Regions from separate parts of the Homo sapiens genome. Here region 1 is linked to region 2. The links are contacts of gene promoters, found by promoter capture Hi-C in blood cells and fetal thymus (Javierre and others, 2016). All regions are on one chromosome and are shown on one strand. The core of a region is centred on a gene start or on the middle of the fragment in contact, and the rest is flanking DNA. Distances in the headings are between cores, read along the strand shown. Region 1 overlaps GUF1 (GTP binding elongation factor GUF1). Region 2 holds the start of DCAF4L1 (DDB1 and CUL4 associated factor 4 like 1).

Evidence for each region. The method cuts DNA at HindIII sites, captures the fragments that hold promoters and counts their contacts. A CHiCAGO score of 5 or more calls a contact.
Region 1: a contact is called between a fragment that was not itself captured here and the fragment with the promoter of DCAF4L1 in region 2, in 1 of 17 cell types (non-activated CD4 T cells). The highest score is 7.2, in non-activated CD4 T cells.

What each region holds. Positions count from the first base shown.
Region 1 is chr4:44,686,349-44,693,792 of GRCh38, reverse strand. GUF1 (GTP binding elongation factor GUF1) reads right to left here. Exons shown (of 17, transcript NM_021927.3): 8 at 7,080-7,283; 9 at 5,647-5,786; 10 at 4,384-4,507; 11 at 3,818-3,950; 12 at 2,933-3,076; 13 at 1,994-2,127. Among named protein-coding and RNA genes, the nearest start is that of GUF1, 12 kb to the right of the region's middle. The HindIII fragment of the contact is 325 bases long and covers 5,945-6,269 here.
Region 2 is chr4:41,979,353-41,986,658 of GRCh38, reverse strand. It overlaps DCAF4L1 (DDB1 and CUL4 associated factor 4 like 1), which reads right to left and starts at 4,903. Exons shown (of 1, transcript NM_001029955.4): 1 at 194-4,903. The coding sequence starts at 4,866. The coding sequence ends at 3,676. RefSeq lists enhancers at 3,641-4,413, 3,973-5,172. The HindIII fragment of the contact is 3,961 bases long and covers 2,514-6,474 here.

The DNA of each region.
Region 1 (7,444 bases), core at 4,858-7,357, 2.7 Mb before region 2:
ACTTTTAACAATGTGGTCAAAGCTTGTAATGTTAGTCAAAACAGACATTTAAATGTTTCACTTATAAAACTGAAGTCTAAAGAAAATTTCAATTAGGCTTACAAGTTGTCCCAATCACAGACAAGAATATGTATACTCCTATTGTCTTAATTTTAAAACAATTGGTGCCTGGACTTGCAAAATTATATTTGGTTTCTAAAGATTTTCAGCAGGAAGGTCATAAAGTGACAATAATACACTCTATTAACAGATTATTTTCAGAAGTACTGTTAAAATCCTTTCTTTCTTCAGGAAGCATCACTTATACATTTACTGTATGAAAGATACCATGTTAAGTATCATACAGAATACAAAGCAAATAGAGAATAAAACAGACATGGTCCTTAACTTTGAAGTTGTTACAGCTCCAGCTATGTTGTGGTCCAAAATATTAAAAATCTTAAAAATTTCTTAACTCATTTTTTCAAAAGAAATCATTATAAAAATTGTGTTTTTGTTTCCAAGCAGTCCAATTGATACCTAACCTCTATTGAAAACATAGGTATTCTAGTGTTTCCTTAGAATGCAGGAAACACATTTGTAATTCCAAAAAGCTACTAGTTGCTGTTGATTCTTGCCTCCTGGTATGAAATAAGTTTTTTCCTGATCTTAATTCATAGTCTATGATGACTTTCTGTTAAGTGTGGAATTGACTGCCTATGTAAAACATCCATCTTGAACATAATTACCTTAATGCTGGAAGCTGGAATATTTTATTTTTATGTAGTTCAAAAATAAATCATGTTCTCTCATTAAATTCAAAATGTATTTAAGTTTCCAAACGACAAGGCTTTTTAAGACCACTTATAATTCAGAAAGTAGTACCCAAATGCAAACTAAAATTGACAGACTTCTGTTAAAAATATTTATAAACATTAAACCTACTAATCTTCCTTTCAACTCTAGTAATTTTAATATGCCCCTCAATTCATTTTACTTTAAATTCCATTGCCACTTACTTGCTCAAGGTCTTGTCTGAAAGAAGACATAGAAGAAGAAAAAACTGGGTGACAAAGTAGAAGAAAATTCTCAATACAAAGGAACATGAAGATTCCTTGGTAAGAAGAATTATATATGCTAACTCTCTTCACTGACAAGATGATTAAATAAAGTTAAACTTCCAAGTCACTGTAGCATGTTTGTTAAACACTGGAATTTGTCTCTGCATGTTAACATTAACATTCATGCACTGTGTGGGAGTTTTATAGATGTCAATGTTCATTTTTCCCCTCCTGCTTCCCCATGTTTCACATCTGTTTTCTATATATACTATCCCGTAACATAAGATTTTAGGGCATAGTGAGGGTATCTAGAGTTATATGCCCCAACAACAACAACAACAACAAAAAACAGCCTCTCAGAATGCTATGCCCTGAGTTTCTTATTTGTTATTTAATAGTAACTCTCCTTTCACTTTTATCTGGCTTTTCTCCATGTACTCCTATGAGATACACAAAGGTTTTCGTGATGAGGACAACCTGTTCCTCAAAAGACTAAGTTATTAAAGTGTTCACTAATGGAGCGGCACATCTAACATTTTTTACAGACTGAATATGCACTTTTATTTTTCAAATGTAAATAGATGCTCTTGAGATTGCATAACATAAATATACATTTTAAAAGTGCCACTGAGGTTATGGTAAATTTTTGAAATTAGGTCTAATTCTTAACAGACAAGGAATACAGCTCTTCATGAAAAGGGGACTAACTTTTTTTGTTAAAAGAGAAATAAAAGTTAGATAATAAATCAAAGGAAACTTTTCTCCTATAAGCAAATCACAAGTAGTCTGTAACACCTATAAAGTTGTTCCAAGTCATTCTAACCTTAGAGTATGATTCTCAACTATCTTCAAGAAAGCTGAAATTACTAAATAAATGAAGAATTAGTATACCCTTGCTCATCAATATTTCAAAAAAGTTGGTCAGGCATCTTAGGTTCTCATTATTTTTTTACCTAGCATATCCAGAAGATAGGGATTTCAAAGAGTCATAAAAATCTACCACAATTTCATTCAAAGGAAAGAGATATTTAAGCATAACTCTATTTTGATCAATAAATATCATATTCTTCTGAACTGCTCTTCGAGCCTAAAAAGGGAAGGAAGAAAATGGGTTTAATGATAACCTACTCAAATACTGAGGAATGATGTATTTCTCTAAAGGTCTAGTAAAAACTTATAGGCAGTATTTATAATCCAGAGAGAAACATTTTATATTTCAATTGCATTAGGCTTGCTACCAAAGCTTTTAATCTTTATCTAACAATTTTATCTTTTAAAATGAACACTATTTCATTTAACAGTAAATCAAATGTAACTACATATAAAGTCAAAAGTCCTAATTTCTTGTTTTACAAATAATTAGGTCCAGAGAAATTAAAAGTTAAGACCAAGATTACAATCTAGTTTTTAACCTAATCAAAGCTCAGTCACCATTTGACACACTTTCCAATATGTATCAGAGTATTTCACATAGGTATTTTTAAGGAATATAATTACATACCATTTGTGGATTAAATCATTTATTACAATGTGGTGAGAACTAAAGCAAAATGGGAGTACCTTCAAATTTATGGTCCCTGAAGTACTATAATTATCTTTCAAACTACTCAAAAAGGCGAAATTATACATTTAGCTAATTATCAAATTTCTTTCCTTTGGGCTAACATATCAAATCAGTAAATTACACAAATTATCAGAAATATTTTTATTTAAAATCAAAATAATTTAAAAAGTATACATATCTATGTGTATAGATATAGACAGATATATATATGAAAATCTCATTAAATTCAGTATGCTCAGCAGAAAGAAATCTTTTAAAACCTGAGTTGGAAATCACTATTTCAGAGGACTAAAACCTAATTTTGTATTAAATTGTATTATAGTTATACCTCGCAAAGCATCATTATTTTTCCAGTGTATTCATCTGGTGTGATAATAGTGCCCAAAACAACTGGCTCCAAATATTCTGTTACTTTTGATTTATCGGGGAATTGTGCAGGATTGATAATTGTAATTTCTTTTTCTCTATGTTCCTAAAAATTAGAAAAATCAGCAATACTTAAAATCTTAATATAATGATTATCATTTTTCTTGTTTGCCTTATATTTTAAAATCCCTCCAGCTGTAATCATTTAATATTAATAACAAGTATTAGTAAACAATATATTCCAATTATTGATATTTACTAAACATATTTCATGGACCATTTAGAAGAAGTATGACAAAAGAATACACTTTAACCTGACACTTATAAAACATTATAGTCTAATAAGTTAATTTTGTTGGAAAATATTTAGATTGCCAAAATTAGTATTTGTTTAAAATGAACAGATTGCCACTTACATGGAATACAATACTGTCTTCATCACTGATTTGAAATTTAAAATTTCCCAGTCACCAGAATGAATGCTTCACTTTTTACGAGATAAATTACTTATGACCAAAATTACATTTTTCATCTTTGTGCTAGAATCAGAACATTATTTTCACTACTAATTTTACCTTTTACTATCAGCAATAGACTAGTTTTGATAATCTGGAGATTACATCAGGTTAAGAAAAATATTGCATAAATTAGTTTTCAAAAAAGTTCTTCATCATTAGCCATAGGGTAATTCAATGTTTATTACTACTAATCAATAAATATTTTGTTTAATACTTAATCAGCTATTGGTATAGTAAAAAGCTTCTCCTGCATTGTATATACACACATTTATTTTTTCCAAGAGACTAATGCAAAACAGTACTAAATACCAGTACTAAATACCAAGTACCTTTATCAATTTTGATGATGACAGTACAGCTTTATATGGAACAGTAGGGGTTGTTAAAATAACAGAAGCATTATATTCTTGCTCCAGTCGCTGGTTGAAAACTTCCATGTGCAAAAGTCCAAGAAATCCTAGCCTGGGGGAGGAAAAGACAAACTCCAAAATGTTTATGTCCCATGGGCTTCATTTTTTTTTTTTTTAATGAACATATTGTTACTTTAAGGGAGGGATGGAATTAAGTCATTCAAACAATTCACAATATAATTAAATGCTAGCATAATTTTATTAAATAAGATTAAAATCTTCCATTGGGAATCTATTTTAAATCACTATAAAACTTACCCATAAAATGTCAATCCGCAACGTGAAACAGGCAGATAAAAATTGTTTTCGTTCACTTTACACTAATATAAACTTATTTTCAGTAAATGTTCCAGAACAATGCACCATTTTATACCTCCCTTACTTATAAAGATATTTTTTAAAAACCTCCCTTTCCTATAAAAATATTTTTAAAATACACCATTTACACCTCCCTTTCCTATAAAACACATGTGAATGAATCTTACCTCCAGCCAGCACCCAGAGCAAGGCTACTATCCCGATGAACGGTCACACTGGAATCATTTAAAGTCAGTTTTTCTATAGCACTCTTCAGATTGTTATATTCAGATTGGTCTAGAGGATACATTCCTGGGGATACAATGATTTCTAATTATCACGTGATAAGCTGCCTACAGACCTATCAAACCACATGTGTAGTGCTGCCAAGTTCCAAATTAGTCATTTACCTTTTAAATTACTTTCTTGTATTTTATTGACCAAAATATTGGTTTGCTAAAAATGAATGATTATTTGGTTTCAAAGTATCTTACAAGTCATTAGTCTGAAAGAATATACAACTAGATTTGCACTCCAAATAATGTTTTTAATGTTTTTGAAAAAATACAGGGAAAAGAAAAAAAAAAACATGGGAATTAGGCCTATTAAGAAAACACAGTGTAATTTCAAAAACAAAAGCACAAGACATTCCACAACCCAAATGAAACTTTATTATTGGATAAAAATAGAAGTAGACATGAAAACTATACTGCACTCTCAATTCTCTAAGGCAGATTATCTACTTAAAACCATAGTTAAATTTTGCTTTTTGGTATTTACTGACAAAAACTATGGGAATCACTACTGATTCTCTTTCATCTGACACCTCTGAAGTCCTCTAAAATCCACATGACTGACTTTGCCTAAAGGTAGGGGTAAACAAAGTTCCTAATTCCCAGTGAGAGAGACTGTAGGGCAAAAATTAAGGGCTAGATACTCAGCACAGAGTAACCTGATGACCTTCAATCAGGTCTTCCTTTTTCCAAAGTAAATGAAGTAAAAGATTCTGAAATTATACGTACTTGAGGCAACACCATTCTGTCATATCTACATTAGTACAGTACAATATTAAAGAAAGTCTATCGAAGATGAAGGCACTCAGTCAGTGTCTACTGATAATTACTAATAAGAACATCCTAATTAGAAAAATGTTTCAAATATAATAATGAACTCCCTAGAAAAATAAGAAAGAAATTTATATTACTGTATCCTATATATCACAGCTTCTTCCTCAAGAACTTATTTCTTAACACATCCTAAATGATCTCCCACATATAATTTCATCACACATATGTAATTATAAACTGATAAACAGCACAAAGTGAAACAATATGCTGGAATTAGTGGTTATTTAAAATAACCAGAATGTGTATTTTTTCCTTAACCACTGAGACAGACTTTTAGTTTAAAAATATCATGGCCCTCAACCTTTGAATTTGTGAACTCCTCACCTGCAAATACCATTGGTTTCGCTGATTTAAACCCAGGCAAGGGCTCCACTGGTTGCTTATGTAAACATAATGTATCTCCTATTTGCGCTTCAGTGACATCTTTCATCCCAGCAATCAGATAGCCCACCTGTCCTGCATATCTAAATAAAATTATTATATGCAAATATTTACTGCTTTAATGTTTCAAGCACATAACTCACAATTAGTTCTACCTTCCCAGGAAACTATCATACACTTTCCAAACTTTCCATACACTTTGAAAATAAGTGCTACATATCAATTATCAAACTCTGAAGCTTGTCAGCAAATGAACACACCAGGTCTTACAATCCATTAGACCTCTCTACTTATAAACCTAATGCCTTTTTCATGATTCTGCCAACCTTTGCAATTTAAACAGCAGTTTCTAAAATATATGTAAATACAGTGAAACTAGTAAGTACAAAAGCATTATAATAAGTACACTTGTGATGTCTTTTATTAATGAATTGTGTTGAAAATGTTCTTTAACAAAGGAAAAAAAGGTAAATTTTTATCCAAGAAAAATGTGAACTCTCAACAAACTGGACACTTGATATTCCTCCTGTAGCAAAAGAGCAAATCCTATGAGTTCAGTTTAAGCTTAGTTAAAAAAAAAAATCCCTACAAAACTAAAATGATTTACACTTAGAATGAGCTTTAAGAACCTTAAATGAAGATGTGATAATGTTTGGTATATATGGCAGAATATAAATAGATGTTAAAATATTTCAGTAAAATAAAAATAGACTTTCTGACTCAATATAGTGCTGTTTTTAGACATATAACACTAAACACTCAAATGTGATCTGACAGTCATCTGGTTCAATAATTTCTACAGACAAGGAACAGGACCTTACAAAGCTCAAATTATGTACCCAAGGTCATGCCTCATCAGTACCTGATACGGAGTAGGCACTCAATAAATAGTTCTTTTACAAGTCAATTCAGATGTTTTTCTAATGCACACTACCCTTGCTAATCCTACTCCCCAAGAATTTTAATCAAGGTTTTACCATGAATTCCACACTAAAGATTTATTAAGGTTTCTATTATACCACCTTTACATTGGAAAATCTAGTTATGAAGAAATGTCAAAAATGATACCTAATATGGATATGGGTGGAGGGAACTAACTCTTTCATTGTCTCATCAAATACATCGATATAGGATCCAATCTACCCTTGATCATAAATCTAGTTATAACTAGTCATTTAGAATAAAAAAAGTATCAACTGACGTTTCTATTGTCCTTCCCATGAGATTCCTTGACAGAGCATTTACTGTATAGTTGCATTAAATAGTTTTTTTTAAGTTACCAAATGAGGATCATTCTAAGCATACCAAGTTGAGAAAAATGCAGAAATAGAACCACATACAAATGCATTTTAATTTTACTAATGCAGATTACTTACAATTTATGAGTTGGCTGCTCATTAGGATTCAAGACTCCTACTTCATTAACTTCGTATGTCTTTTGAGTATGTGCAGATACAATTTTATCTCCTTTGGAAACCACTCCGTCAAATAATGCTACATTGGCTATCACACCTCTATACTGGTCAAAGGTGGAGTCAAATACCAAAGCTCTCAGAGGATTTTTGCGATGCACTTTAGGACTAGTAAATATAAGTAAAAAGTAAATATATATACACTAAATTAAAATCTTAATAAAATTCTTATTTTCAACTTAGATATTGTACTTGAGTTCTTGAGAAAGTTTGATACACAACAGCCTAAATAAAAAGACCTTTTTATAAAATATATTAGATTTAATAAC
Region 2 (7,306 bases), core at 3,654-6,153:
ACAGCTGGAATAATTGAGTTATTAAATACTCCTGGAGGCAAGAGACTGACTGTTTGATAACCTTTATCCTTGAGAAGAATTAAGCTGAGACAGAGCATGGAGGTGTAATATTTTTAGAGAGGGCAGCATTTGTGAAGAGTCAATTCCTTCCCCAAAGCCACAGGTGGGGGCAGCAAGAGAAAGTCTTACTAGGTTTTTTAAAATTTAACTTTTTATTGAAGTATAATACACACAAGACATATATTAAGGGCATAGCTCTAACAATTATCACTAGTGAACAAAAACTGTGTAGCCAGTACCCCGCTATAGAGAGGATGCACCTGACAGCAGTAACAACCATATCCTGAGAACGACCCTGTGATCTAAAACGAATGTGTGCTCAGAATCCCAAACTAAGGAAACAGGAGCGACTAACCCTGAGTTTCACTCCTTATCTATGAAGGACGTCTGAACCCCCAGCCCATCCCTTACAACACAGGCAATATAGGGGATCAAGGTCCTTTGCTTTGGGTTAAATGGAGGTTGCTAGGTGGAGTGTGCTAAATGAAAATGCTATATAAACTGCATGCTTTTTACAAACAGTAGTGGTTCTTCTGTCCAGCCTACTACCACTGGACCATCCCTATATATAAGTTCCCCCAATAAACCCAAGTCTTGTTCGCTGTCTACGCATCTTCTTTGGACTCTCGGACACAGTGCCATTACTATTGGAGTCACTAGGGGTCTGGCATGACACCAGCATTGCTAGCTTCCTAGAATCTTCTTCTGGTCACTACTCTTCTGCCCTACAAGTATACCATTAATCCTGCTTCTAAGAACATAGATTCATTTTGCCTGTTTAGGGACTTTATGTGCATTAGTTGTACAATATGTGCTCTTTTGTGTTTGGCATCTTTATTTCAACATTATGTTTGCAGGATTTGTCCATAGTGCTATGCTCATTCTCACTGCAAAAAGGATTCCATTGTGTTAATATCCCACAATTTATCCACTCTACTATTAATGAACATTTGGGTAGTTTCCAGTTGGAGCTATTAACAAATTATGGTGGACACAGGTATGCATTTCTGATTAATATATTCCTAGGACTGAAATGACTGGGTCATAGAGTATGCAAACTTCTAGCTTTAGCAATTACTAACTTTTCCAAGTGCTTGTACCAGTATACACTCAACAGTATATGAAAGTTCTATTTGCTCACAACTGCACCAACATTTGCTTCTCTTTTAATTCCCAACGTCACTCCACCTGATCTATTTTATTTTAACCATTATAGTGAAAGTGGTGTGGCATTGTGGTTTTAATTTGCATTTCCTTGACAATAAAAGAAGTTGGATGCCTTTTCAAATGTATATTAGCCATTTGGATCTCCTCTTTTTCTCCTATTCAAGACTATTGCCTCCCTTTCTTTTAGGTGTGTTTTTCTTACTGATTTTTTTTTTGCATTTGTTTTCTTTGCAAATGAGGATAAACAGTTTATCAAGTTATGTAGTCATTTTTTGTCAATTGCCAAATAAATGACATATCAGTATCAGACATATATATATATACATATATATGTCTGCAGCTAGTTCTTACTGAATGATTGCAATGTCTTTTCTTCATTAATTGTTTTGTTTTATTTTGAATGCTTACAATGTAAAAGGGACAAGATACATATCCTTTAACCCTGTATCTACTTTATCATTTAGTTTTATTATCTAAGACATTTTACACTGAAGAAACAACAGCAAGTAAAGCTTACACAATTTCTCATGTCACATATCAAGTTAGTATAAAAAACTGACTGAAAGGATTCCAAAAATCTGTGCCTAACCATACTCCCATATCTTCTCTATTGATCTACTCATCTTCTATCAATATGTAATTACATTAACCTCATCTATGTCATATAAAGCACATCTATCCCATCTATTTTAATTCTATGTATTGAAGTCACCAAATTTGTATTACCAGCCATGACATGACCCCTGATCTGCAGAATACTTTGTATCTCCAATTGGAGGTTTAGTAGATGTCTAAAACTCAGCATCATTCCCTTCACCTAAAGTTTTTTCTCCTCATCCTCCCCAGGTTAGTAAACGACACCATCATCTACCAGTTCTAAAGTTAACAAAAAAGCTGCCATCCTCAGAGCTTGCAGTGAGCCGAGATCGCGCCACTGCACTCCAGCCTGGGCGACAGAAGGAGACTCCGTCTCAAAAAAAAAAAAAAAAAAGCTGCCATCCTTTTTTCTTTCACTTTCTAGTTTACTCTCATCAGCAAGCCTTATCAATAATACTACCTTCGAATGATCTTCCAATGCAATCATTTCTGATCATTTCTACTTCTCACACATGCAGGTCCAAGGCATCATTGTCCCTTGCCTAACTACAATAGTGTCCTAATTGCTTATTTTTATTTTTTGAGGAATAACATATATACAGTAAACTATAAAAACGTGAAGCATATAGATATATGAATTACGTATGTATCAAGTGTCAAGATAAAGAAAACTCAGCATTCCTAAAGCTTCCCCATGTCACTTCTCAAACATCCTAAAAAGAAAAAGAAAAAAAAATCCTTTCTTTCTACAGAGGTACGTACTACTCTACCTTTAATCACCATAGACAAGTTTTTACTGCTTTTGAACTTTAGAATTGAATCATACAGTTTGTACTCATTTCTACCTAATTTCAGTCAACATGTTGAGATTGGTCCATACTGTTTCACATAGCAAGTGTGCCTTATTTTCTATTATTATGCAGTATCCGATTGTATGATTATATCACGAATTTTAGCATTTTCGAAATTCAGATCATTTCCAGGCTTTGGCTATTAAGAAGTAGCAACTAACCTTATTACACGTTTTTTTTCTTCCTTGCTTAGTAGAAAAACAGGCTCTTTAACATTTTTAATAAATCTCTCACAAACTGCTGCTCCTAGATTACAAAAAGTCAAAGCCAATTCCTTGAATCTGAACTTCAAGTCACCATAATAGAAACCGGAGCTGCTGTACCTTACATTCTGAAAGGTACCTCAACAAAAGCACATCAAGGACTGTTTAAAACTTCTAGTATTTAAAAAGATCCATCTTTCCTTCCAATGCCTATGGATGATAACAATAAAAGGAGAACCTTAAGAGATCTGCTATTGAGTTTGAGAAGGCCAAATTTAATGATTCCAAACTCCAGCCTTAAATATTTCTGTAGAGACTCTGAGAAATTACCTCTCCCTTGTCTCCACTCCCACTGGCTTCCTCAAGCGCAGATGCCTGGGACCCTGTATGATTAGTCAAACAGTCTTACCAGTACCATCATTATGCTTCTCTAAAGGGCTACTAGTGAAAGAAGCTGCTTTAATTTATTTTAGTTTTTGCCAATCTTCAGTCCTTAGAAAAGTCTTAATTATTTAAAAAAAAAAAGGGTTGGGGAGGTGGTTAACTGTTCTAAGGCATTCAACAAGAGGAAACAGGTACCTTTTATGAAAAGGACTTTCAAGTTAAGTCCACAGTTTAACTGAAATAACTTTACAAGAACGTCTCCACATAAAACTCTTAACACCTTACCCCTGGCAGCCGGATGGATGCGATCTATATACAACACGTCTCTTAAAATGCTCTCACAGAAACGGTAATAAGATACTCTTAACTTCCTTAAGTCAAATCCACATTCGGCCGCGCTGCCACCTGCAGAATTAGCTGAAGGGGAAACAATAAAGGTCCTGCCGGACAGCCATGAGCAGCCCTGGTGCTGCTCCCCGGATGCCCCCGAGCCGAGAAGCGAAGGCCACGCTGGGAATGTCGTCCTCGGAGGCAGAGTACGGGGAAGGGATGGTTCTGAGCAGGTGGGCATCATGGAGGCTCCAGATTCTCGTGTAGCAGTCCTGGCCCACTGCCACCACGATTCCCTCTTCCTCGTGCACATGCAGGGGCAGATAGGCGGACTCATTCACGTGACCTTCGTACTGCCTTACACATTTAGTGGCCCTCAGATCCCACAGCTTGATCTTTCCAGTCATGTCTGATGCCATCAGGCATTGCTCTTCTTGGAGGATTTGCACAGAGGTCACTGCTGAGTCATGGAACAGGCGAGTGGCCCTCCACCCCTTGCCTCGATTTCTACAACGCAGATCAATGGCAAAGATCTCCCCGGAGCGACAGCCATTAAACAGCAAAGGAGCCGTACTAGCAAACTGCTGGGCCAAGACATCACTGCTGGTATCAAATGACTGCTGGTGTCCCGTCGCCACGCTGGTCAACAGGACCTGCTGAGACAAGCCTGCACTAAAGCAGTGATATGCCCGGGTGTTGAGGGACCACGCACAGGACCAGGCCTCTGGGATCTGGAAACTGCAGAGCATGCCAGGCTGGTTAACTCTTGTGTGAACACTTAAGAACCGCGACGCTGGGAGCAGCACTGCACAGCTTGGAGCATCTGTGATTCCCTCGAAGCACAGCAGAACGTGAGAGTCCAACTGGTTCAGCGAGGCCCAGCACAGGGACTTCACCTTCCGGTTGGGGACGTAGAGGTTTCTGAGCACGTACACGTGGAACGAAGGGATCTTCAGAGTTCGCAGGCTGATGATGCCGTACTTGGAGCCTTCGACTTCGACCTGGTTCACTACGAAGAGCTGGTCGCTGTTGGTACTCGCCAGAATGAAGTTAAATCGGTCGCTCGCCAAAGAGGAGGGATCCAAGCTCCGAATTTGGACCTTTTTCCGCTCCATGCAGCTCACACGCAGCTCGTTGGCTAAACGGGAGTAACTGGTGACGTTGAGGAAACCTAGCTGGCTTTTTCGGAGCATGGAAGATGCATTAAATCCCATTCTGGCTACCTTTTTCAGCTTGGCCTCTTCCTCGAGGAGTCGCAGCCTTTCAGCCTCCATTTCCTCCTGCGGAATGTTCCTCGTGACAGGAAATTCTGCAGGATGTTCTTCTCCGTGACAGGATGTTCTTTTCCGTGACAGGAAGTTCCGTCCGGGTGCAAGCGGAAGTGTTGCTACTTTTTATCCTCTCTATTCTAGGAGGAAGTCCATTGTTACAGATGTGTATTACAAATCTCTTTTCCTACTCTGTGGGTTGTCGTATTCTCTCAGTGGTGTCTTGATGAAAGGAAGTTCTTGATGTTAAATTTTTTCCTTTCTCTTTTTGAGACAGGGTCTTGCTCTTTCACCCAGGCTGGAGTCCAGTGGCACGACCACGGCTCACTGCAGCCTGGAACTCCTGGGCTCAAGTGATTCTCCTACCTCTGCCCTACTTAGCTGGGACTATGGGCTCACAACACCATGCCAGGCTACTTTTTTTGTAAAGATGGGGTCTCCCTGCTTTGCCGATGCTAGTCTGGAACTCTTGAGCTCAAGCAGCCTGTCCGCCTCAGCCTCCCAAAGTGCTGGGATTACAAGCATGAGCCCACGCGCCCTGCCTGTATTTCTTATTTTTTTATTTTTTATTTTAAGACGGAGTCTCGCTCTGTCGGCCAGGCTGGAGTACAGTGGCGCGATCTCGGTTCACTGCAAGCTCTGCCTCCCACGTTCACGCCATTCTCCTGCCTCAGCCTCCCAAGTGGCTGGGACTACAGGCGCCCGCCACCACGCCTGGCTAATTTTTTTTGTATTTTTAGTAGAGACAGGGTTTCACCGTGTTAGCCAGATGGTCTCGATCTGCTGACCTCATGATCGGCCCGCCTCAGCCTCCTAAAGTTCCGGGATTACAAGCGTGAGCCACTGCGCCCGGCCGCCTGTATTTTTAAAATACAGTTAGAGACCAGCCTGGGCGGCATGGTGAAACTTTGTCTCTAAAAAAATACAAAGATTAGGCCGGGCGCAGTGGCTCACGCCTGTAATCCCAGCACTTTGGGAGGCGCAGGCAGGCGGATCACGAGGTCAAGAGATTGAGACCATCCCGGCTAACACGGTGAAACCCCGTCTCTACCAACAATTAAAAAAATTAGCCGGGCATCGTGGCGGGCGCCTGTAGACCCAGCTACTCTGGAGGCTGAGGCAAGAGAATGGCGTGAACCCGGGAGGCGGAGCTTGCAGTGAGCCGAGATCGCGCCACTGCATTCTAGCCTGGGCAACAGAGCAAGACTCTGTCTCAAAAAATAAATAAATAAATAAAATACAAAAATTAGCGGGGTATGGTGCACACCTGTAGACCCAGCTACTCAGGAGACTGGGAGGGAAAATCACTTGAGCCTAGGAGTCTTGGAGGGAAAATCACCTGAGCCCTGAAAGTTGAGGCTGCAGTGATCACCCCACTGCACTCCAGCCCAGCTGGGAGACAGAATAAGACCCTGTCTCAAAAAGAAAGAAAAATAAGTAAATAAATTATGAATTTATCCAAATTGTCCATTTGTTTCATTAATGGTTAGTGTCTTTCATGTTCTGTTCAGGACATTAGTACCTATTACATGATACTAGTAAAGTTTTGGGGTGTCTTCAAGAGGAGGCTGATATCTCCAGTCCCCATCTGGATGTTTCCTTTGCCACAAAGCTTGCTGACTCCCCTTACGCTATGAATTTCCAGGAATTTTGGAGGACTGGGGAGAGTTGGTAGGGACTACAGAGAAATCCGGTGATATCTGGACTATGGATCCTGTCGGAATCTACAGGCCCCAGAGCTGGGATCACAGAGAGCACAGGAGATTGAGGCCCACACACTTGCCATGGAACATAACATGGGACAAGGGATTTCTATGTATCAGAAGAATGTGTTTCACCACTGCCAAATGGAAGTCAGCTGACAGATGCAGAAGTCTTGCAAAGGGCTATCAAAGCATAGAGGACTGCTTGATACTGAGTTATCAGTGGGGCTGTTAGGAACCCCATATATTCTAACAATGACCTACAGAAAGCAGATAGCAACATGGCGGCAGTCAGACATTTAAGGCATTGCCTGTTTTCCTTCTTAAACCTCCTGACCCCACCATCGGAAGAGCAGGCACATGGAAAAAAAGGGGTGTGTATAAAGAAAGTTGGAACTACGGGTCTAGTCTGCTCTGGAAGGCATGGAGGAAGTTTTTGAAATAAATATGAGACTAATATTTTAAATCAGTAGGACCTAATCTTAATACCTAGAATGAAAGTTTTAATAACTAAGGAGGCTGATACTTTGAAGCAATGAAATCTGACAAAATACCAAGTGTAGAAATGATGAGACTTTCAAGCTTATGCCTCTTGAGGTGAGATTCTCAATCAAACTGATTACACATCTTTGTCTACCCTAGTATACTGTGGACATCTTTAGACAGGGATTGTTTCTTATCCATCTTTCTATCCTTACTGTCTAGTGTATAATATAGTACATGGGACATAGGATATAGATAAG